Linked DNA regions of Homo sapiens: region 2 is linked to region 1. The links are contacts of gene promoters, found by promoter capture Hi-C in blood cells and fetal thymus (Javierre and others, 2016). All regions are on one chromosome and are shown on one strand. The core of a region is centred on a gene start or on the middle of the fragment in contact, and the rest is flanking DNA. Distances in the headings are between cores, read along the strand shown. Region 1 holds the start of KLRC1 (killer cell lectin like receptor C1). Region 2 overlaps LINC02446 (long intergenic non-protein coding RNA 2446).

Region 1 (4,276 bases), core at 567-3,066:
CAGGAGAATCTCTTGAACATGGGCGGCAGAGGTTGCAGTGAGCGGAGATTGTGCCACTGCACTCCAGCCTGGGCGACAGAGTGAGACTCCGACTCAAAAAAAAAAGATAAATTTTCTGCATTTGACAAAATATTATTGCTGGGGCAATGAGAAGCAATAAATTACTAAGGAATAAAGAAGTTCAGGAATAAAAATATATTTCTTAAAGTCTGATGTTTTACCTGTGTTAAAAATTAAAATGTTGTATTAGAAAAACTTCTGCACTCATTTTTATGTTAATTTTGAAATCCAGTAATGGTTAAGACTATGTGGTCTGCACATGAGTAATAGTAAAGTTGACATATATATATATAAAAATTTCTTGCACTACATTACTTTTAATTAGTAATTTATACACATTAATGAAAATCAATAGAGGTAATTAAATGGTCTTTTCTTAATGGCTGAAATGTTCTAAGAAATTATTAAAAATTATTTATTAAAAATTATAAAAAATTAAATATTTGTATATGACAGAAAATGCTATGTGACACAGTTAACTTATGCATAACCTAAATAGTATTAGGAACACTACATAAATTGTTAATACTTACAGAAGTATTGGTAATTTAATTAGTAATTGGTAATTTATTTCCTGGCTAAATTATGAACCAAAAAATGATAAATAAAAGTATAGGTAATTCATGTTAAAGCACATTTCATTTAAACTTATAGAATGATTTTATGGTTGTCAAAGTGAGTAAAGGCCACTTTAGTTGTATAAGTACTTGTAAAATTTCAGATAATGTAATTAAATCATTTAGTCAATGGGCTCTGGAGTCAGTGAGATCTAGAATTAATTCTAGCTTTGACACTTATAATGTGCGACCTTTAAAAAGTTATTCTATTTTTAATAACCCAGTTTGTTAATCTAAAATGGGCATAAGAACATATAAAACGTTGCATGTAAAACATTTACCACTCAACCTGGCACTTAAAGTTCTCAATAAGCATTAGCTACTTTAATTATTATTTTAGTCACAATTGTTATGTTACTGTTTCTGATTCATGTCAGTTAAAGCATGGAAAATAAATCTTCAGATAAGTCTCCTATGTCCATGCGCTACATCTTTTTTTGCAATATTTTGATCAATTTTTAAAAAGTATTTTTATTGCTTTGTAATACCTTTAGCATTTTATGTAATCTACCTCATTCTGATTTTTATTAAAAATAAAAACTGCTTTTCTCTAATCTACGTGTCTGAGGAATTGTATTTGGCTTTCATCAATTGATTGATTTATTTTAATAATCTTTAATGGCTAAGCTAAATATAAATTATTATTCAAAGATACATGATGTACTGATTACAAAATACAAAATTAATTGTTCATTATTGTGATGTTAATAGCTTTCCCTTAAACGATATTGATCAACAAACCCACTAGATTTCCACAAACAATAATTTGAAAACTTTAAGAAATCCTTCAACATATTTCATATTTTAGGTTTTTACCCTGAGTTATTCAAATGAAGACAGCAATATTCTACTTTGATTTTATTGTATATTAATTATACCTCCTTTGTATCATATTGAGCACTTGAAATCACCCACTAAATGAGGTAGGCTAGTAGAGAGTTGGAGAGTAGCAATACATACCTTCTGTCCCCAGAAAGTCACACATCCTTTAGTGGAGAGGCCAGGTTAGTCTCATAAAAAGGCCTGCTATAGCTGTGTAATAAAAGGTGAAATTTAAAGGCATAAATCCAAGACAAGAACAAACAATGCCTGCAATCTTCGCAGACTGCCCTGTGAAGGCTCAGAGTGAGTCAAGAGTGGAAAAAGTAGATTTCTCATCAACGTGTTACTAAGGTTTGAACAGGAAATTCTACACATGGGCTATTGTGAAATCAGTTTTATCTCATCACACACCTCCAAAATATAGGATACTTGGTCTATTAAAAGTACAAGGTTGACTTTGAAAGTGTGTCATTTAGTTGGTTCATTTTTCAAGTGCCTATGAGAATTTTTTTTTTTTCTGTCTTGATCACGAACATTGTCAACCCTCACCTTGTTAAGAGTGCCTTTTAGACTAGGTTGCTAAATCTTAACATTGCATACTTCTTTTCTTTATATTATTTTATTATGTCACTTCCATTATAATAGAAAACATTCTAAAACTCATAGTAATATTATCAACTGATATCTACTGATTTTTTCCTTAATTATTCTGAAAAATTACTGCAGTAATTACTCAATTGATTGTAGCTGGCACAAAAAGCATCATTGCCAAAGTTATATTATTAACTTCTCTTAGTTCTTAAATTTTTGCACTTAATTTTTAAAAATAGATTATTTAATCTTCAGATTACCCTTGATAAAAATATCTTGGATAGGTAAAATATTAATCAATTTTGAAATATATTAGCATACCAGAAATTGAAATATTAAATAGCTATTCATTACATTCTTCATTTATTCATCCTCCGCCATAACAAATTATGTCGACTTTCATAGAAATATTTAGTTGTAAATGACAAAAACTGAAGTCAAACTATGTATGGGGAAAAAGTAATTTTAAAATCTTACTAGGAGGAAAGTCAGTAAATTGGCAGAATAGGTGGTCCCCCACACATATGCCCCCACAGCAACAATAATTTTTCAGCCATCCACAGACAAAAGTTCCTTTGAGGGAGTTTGGAATTCAAGTAGGAGTTTGTAAAATGCCAGTGGAACCCAAGACCTAGGAAGGTTGTTTTAGGGAATAGATTTGCATCCAAGTGGCAGACTTACCAACAGTGATTCCATCTCCAGACCTGAAAAGGGACCCATCCTCCTGTGCTTGCCTTCAGCCCCATTTAGGCCTTGGTCATGCTGCCAAAACCATTTGCCCAGGGGCCCAGGAGGAGACTCACACACTAGTGTCTCAGGAGGTAGGCATATCAACTGTAGTCTCAATGTAGACCCTGAAACAGCCCTCTAACTTGGCTTTAACTAGTGTCAGCCACAACTTGAGATCAGTCCTTCACCCACAGAGACTTCCTGGGAGACATATACATCTGTACCTCTGGGGCATGCTTGCTGACCTCTGTCCTACAGAAGATACTAAAATGGCCCTGAATCTCCACTCAAACTCCTCTCAACTGTGACCTGAGTTAATCACAGGAAATTGCTGTGAGACTCAATCATCTTTGTCAGCAGTACAGGCTTGCTGACTTCAGTTCCACGGTAGTTTCTGAAACAGCCTTGAATCTTGACCTTCACCCTTCTCAGCTGTGGACTGTGAGCAGTCTTGCCAGCTCAGGGATACAGAGGGAGGACATGTGCATCCATGTCCCAACTAGGAGACCATTGACCTAGGTTTCACAGCAGATCCTTTAATTGGACAGAAAAGGGGCTTCGACACTTCTCAGCTATGCTAGAGAGCAGTTTGCCCATACAGGGACCTGGAGAGAGACATCATTAGTGCCCCTGCAGGCACAGACCTTAGTTTTATTTCAGATCTTGAAACAATTCTGGATCCAGCTCCAGCCCAACTCAACTACAGTCTGAGGCAAATCTGCCTGCCCACAGACCTGCCAGAAAACACACTCAACCATGACCCCAGAGACAGACATGAAGACACTGGTTTCAGCTATAGACCCCGAGGAAACCTTGTGACTTAGCACTAACTCCTCTGTGCCACAGGTTGAGGAACCCACTCAGAGACCCATGAGCAGCCTTCCCAGCAAACTAGATAAACTCTTCCCCAACTACACACCTAATAATAGACCCACCATTTACAGACCTTGAAGTGGACCCTCATCCCCTCCCCAGCCCTATACAGTATGATTCTAGAGCCAGTTTGGCCCTCTGAGGCACTAAATAGGATACAAGCCTGCTAGAAGCCCTAGTAAAAGGATCATGAACCAAAGATCCCACTCTGGACCCGTAAGCAACCATGTGATCTGGCTGTAACCCCATTCAACCATGATACTGAAGGCAATCTCATCAGCCCAGGACACTAACAGGAGAAGCTTTTAACCTACCGAAACCAGTCTGTAAAGACTGAAAGAGAGTCTGCTCTTTCAAATGCACAGACATCAGTACAAGGATAAACAAATAACAAAGCATCAGACAAATATGACACCACCAAAGGAAACTAATAAAGCTTTAGCAACTGATCCAAATAAATGGAGATCTATAAGTTTCCTTTAAAGTAATTCAAAACAATCATCTTAAAAAATCTCAGTGAGATGCAAAAGAAAAGAGTAAACAAAAAATACAACTAAAACAAAAAATACATGAACAAAATAAAA
Region 2 (4,276 bases), core at 792-3,291, 110 kb after region 1:
ATTAAATGGGATGAAGAAAGTTTATTGTACCATCATTAGTCTTTAGCATTGTACTTGTTATTTTACAAAATATCTGTTTATATAGCTTTCAATCCAAGTTGATCATACATTCAGGGAAGGCAGAAATTGTGTTACTCACTTTTGAACCATCAACATACAGTGCAATTTATAAAAACCACTAATAAATAATTGCTGAATGAATGCTTTTTCTTTGATTTTTGTTTTTTGTTTGGGACAGGGTTTCACTCTGTTGCCCAGGGCGCAGTGTAGTGGCCTGATCATAGATCACTGCAGCCTCTACTTTGAATTGTCTCTCGGGCTCAGGCAATCCTCCCATCTCGGCTCCCTGAGTAGCAAGAACTATGGGCATGTGCCACCATGCCCAGCTAATTTTTAAAATTTTTCCCTTTTTGTAGAGACAGGGTCTTGCTTTGTTGCCCAGGCTGGACTCAAACTCCTAGCCTCAAACAATCTTCCCACATTGGCCTCTCAAAGTGCTGAGATTATAGGCATGAACCACCATGCCTGGCTGAATGAATGCATATTTTTATGGTTTAACATAGTAGAAGACAAACAATTTTAAATTATAAGTACTAAAAAGCTTTTAATTTATTTGACACAGAGTCTTGCTCTGTGGCCCAGGCTGGAGTGCAATGGTGCCTTCTTAGCTCACTGCAATCTCAGCCTCCCAAATTGAAGGGATTCTGCTGCCTCAGCCTCCTGAGTAAGCTGGGACTACAGGTGTGAGCCACCACACACAGCTAACTTTAGTATTTTTTGGTAGAGATGGGGTTTCATCATGTTGGCCAGGCTAGTCTCAAACTCCTGATATCAGGTGATCCACCTGCCTCAGCCTCCCAAAGGGCTGGGATTACAGGAGTGAGCCACCATGCCCAGCCCTAAAAAACTAATGTTATGTTATTGTTAACTTGATTTTTTCTTATTAACATATGATGTTCCAAGGAGTCATTGTTAAAAATTGGAGTAACAAGGAGAAATATGAAGAGAGAAAAACACTTCCTTATAAAATTACATTAATATGTTTCCTTTCTATAATTTCTATGCAACATACTGGGAATCACACATTAGTTTACAACCCAATTCATAAATTAGCATTATGCCAGAAGCATTTCTCATGTCATTGAATACTTCATAAGTCATTTGAAAGTGTGTATGTTTTTTAATTGTATGATTGTATCATATATACTAACCCTTTCATTATTGTTGGACCCAAGATTTTACCTGGTATTTGACAATTCCAATAATGCTAAGGTAAAATCTTGAGTGTGTACCATTTTGTCCACATTATTTTCTGAAGATAGATTTCTAGTAGACTCATTGGCTCAAAAAGTACTACCATTTTTTAAGGTTATCAATATATTTTGCTAAATTTGTGTGCAGTAGTTATCTACTAACATTTGCTACAGCAGTTTATGAGAATATAGTTATTACTTCATTCTGACCAGCAAGACTAATTTTCAAATAAGCCTTGATTTTAGAGCTTGGTTTATGTGGTGATGCCATCTGGTGGCCTAGTACAAAATTACAGAATCAGAAGTGAAAAACCTTTTGAAAACTGTAATGAGCAAAATTAAATTTATAAGGTGATGGCAAATAGCACAAGTCTTATACGTTGTCAGAAAGCATTCTTGCTGTTTGGATTTCTAAAAATTATCAGGAGCCATGTAAAATGAAGATTACAAACTCAAACAATGCTCATTCATTCATCTCTTCAACCTGAGTTTTTGGAGTACCTACCACATGGTAGTACTATTCCCTGCTGATGAAAAAGATGAAGTCTCCATGCATGATTTCCAGGAATGTGTAGTTTAATGGGGATACATAATGCAAATTTACCACTATAAATTTTACCAAAGGCTTTCACAAGTGGTGACTAATATTTACTAATATTTGTCATTTGAATCATTTTTATCAAATGTATGATATGTAATTGTGGTTGACTTTCTCTAAAATAACTCCAGTCATCATTCCACTTCTTGGTATTCATGCCATTGTATAATCTTCTTCCCAGAGTGTGTGCTCAAGTTGGCATCTCTGTTTCTCTTTCTCTCCCTCTTTCTCTCCCACTCCCCTCTCCCACATACACGTCCCCAGCAGAAAACAGAATAACAAACTGCCATGAAGTGAGTAGCTCTATGGAGAGGTCTATGAGGCAAGGCATTGACATTTCTCCTGTTAACAGTGAGTGAGGACCTCACACCAGCCAACAGCATGTGCATGAGGCTGCATATGAGTCTGCCCCAACTGAGCCTTCAGATGACTGTAGCCCTCACCCACACCCCAAAGGCATCCTTGTGAGAAACTCTAAGTCAGAGTCACCCATGGCTGGATTCCTGACCCAAAAAAAGCATAAGTTGTGGGATAATTTAGTAATTTGTTACACACAAATAGTTAACTAATTAACTAATAAAAAGAATTTGAGCCTGGCCTGGTGGCTCATGCCTGTAATCCCAGCATTTTGGGAGGCTGAGGTGGACGGATCACTTGAGGACAGGAGTTCAAAGATCAGCCTAGCCAACATGGTGAAACCCCATCTCTACTAAAAATACAGAAATTAGCCAGGCATGGTGGCCCATGCCTGTAATCCCAGCTACTCAGGAGACTGAGGCAGGAGAATCACTTGAAGTCGGGAGGTGGAGGCTGCAGTGAACCAAGATCGCCCATTGCACTCCAGCCTGGGTGACAGAGCAAGAAACCCTGTCTTAAAAAAATAAAAAAAAGAAAGAAAGCTATTCAAACATTTGAATAGTGATTTCAACATAATTACTCAAGTCCTATACAAAATTACTTAAGTCCTATACAAATTTAAACTACAATTACAGATTTAGTTAAGCTAAGTCTTTTGAGCACCTCAAACACCTTAAGTAGCAAATATACCCAAAGAAAATTATTACAAAACCTATTGCTTACTCTTAAACCTATCCTAAAATATAACAATAGTTTTTAAACTTCATTTCTTTTGTTATTCCTATAATTTTTATTCTTCTCTAAGGCTATAATTCCACTTGATAACTTCCATTAGTTGTATTAATGCATCCTTTTACATCTTTCTGGGCTTGTAGTGATCTCCCTAGACCAATAAGCAAAATATTTCAGTAAATGGCTGGTCAAGCAACTGATTTTTAGTCAGTTTGGGACCCGTTTGTTTTTGCCACGATAATTAACTCCAGCTGCAGGCCATGAAGTCATCTCCTATTTTAGAGTTAAACTTCTTTTGTTATAAAAATAAGACATTTCAAATTCTCATCTTTCACATGTTTTTGGATTTTTATAACCTAATATCTCCATCATAAATGATACGTTTCAAGTCTCAACCAACATTTCATTATGTATTATCCTATCTCTATTATATACTGATATTTTATGTTAGGATTATTACAAATTATGTATGCTTTATTGTATTATTTAAGGGCCACTTAGAAATTCTATATCCTAGGAAAAGAGAAATGAAAGTTTTGTAGTAAGCTTCCTTTTCATTATTATTATTATTTTTGAATTATACTTTAAGTTCTGGGATACATGTGCAGAACGTGCAGGTTTGTTACATAGGTATACACGTGCCATGGTGGTTTGCTGCACCCATCGACCCGTCATCTACATTAGGTATTTCTCCTAATGCTATCCCTCCCCTAGCCCCCCACCCTCTGACAGGCCCTGGTGTGTGATGTTTGCCTCCCTGTGTCCATGTATTCTCATTGTTCAACTCCCACTTATGAGTGAGAACATGTGGTGGTTGACTTTCTGTTCCTGTGTTGCTTTGCTGAGAATGATGGTTTCCAGCTTCATCCATGTCCCTGCAAAGGACGGGAACTCATCCTTTTTTATGGCTGCTTAGTATTTTATGGTGTATATGTGCCACATTTTCTTTATCCAGTCTATTATTGATGGACATTTGGGTTGGTTCCAAGTTTTTGCTATTGTGAACAGTGCTGCCATAAACATACATGTACATGTGTCTTTATAGTAGAATGATTTATAATCCTTTGGGTATATACCCAGTAATGGGATTGCTAAGTCCAATGGTATTTCTGGTTCTAGATCCTTGAGGAATCGCCACACTGTCTTCCACAATGGTTGAACTAATTTACACTCCCACCAACAGTGTAAAAGCGTTTCTATTTCTCCACAGTCTCTCCAGCATCTGTTATTTCCTGACTGTTTAATGATTGCCATTCTAAGTGGCATGAGATGGTATCTCATTGTGGTTTTGATTTGCATTTTTCTAATGACCAGTGATGATGAGCTTTTTCTCCTA

What was found. Contacts are between HindIII fragments. The CHiCAGO score rates a contact against its expected background, and 5 or more counts as called.
Region 2: a fragment that was not itself captured here is called in contact with the fragment with the promoter of KLRC1 in region 1 in 1 of 17 cell types (total CD8 T cells); the score reaches 5.8 in total CD8 T cells.

The regions. Positions count from the first base shown.
Region 1 is chr12:10,451,561-10,455,836 of GRCh38, forward strand. It overlaps KLRC1 (killer cell lectin like receptor C1), which reads right to left and starts at 1,817. Exons shown (of 7, transcript NM_002259.5): 1 at 1,638-1,817. The HindIII fragment of the contact is 4,540 bases long and covers 1-3,992 here.
Region 2 is chr12:10,560,984-10,565,259 of GRCh38, forward strand. The region is part of intron 1 of LINC02446 (long intergenic non-protein coding RNA 2446); the gene reads left to right. Among named protein-coding and RNA genes, the nearest start is that of LINC02446, 9.7 kb to the left of the region's middle. The HindIII fragment of the contact is 2,885 bases long and covers 600-3,484 here.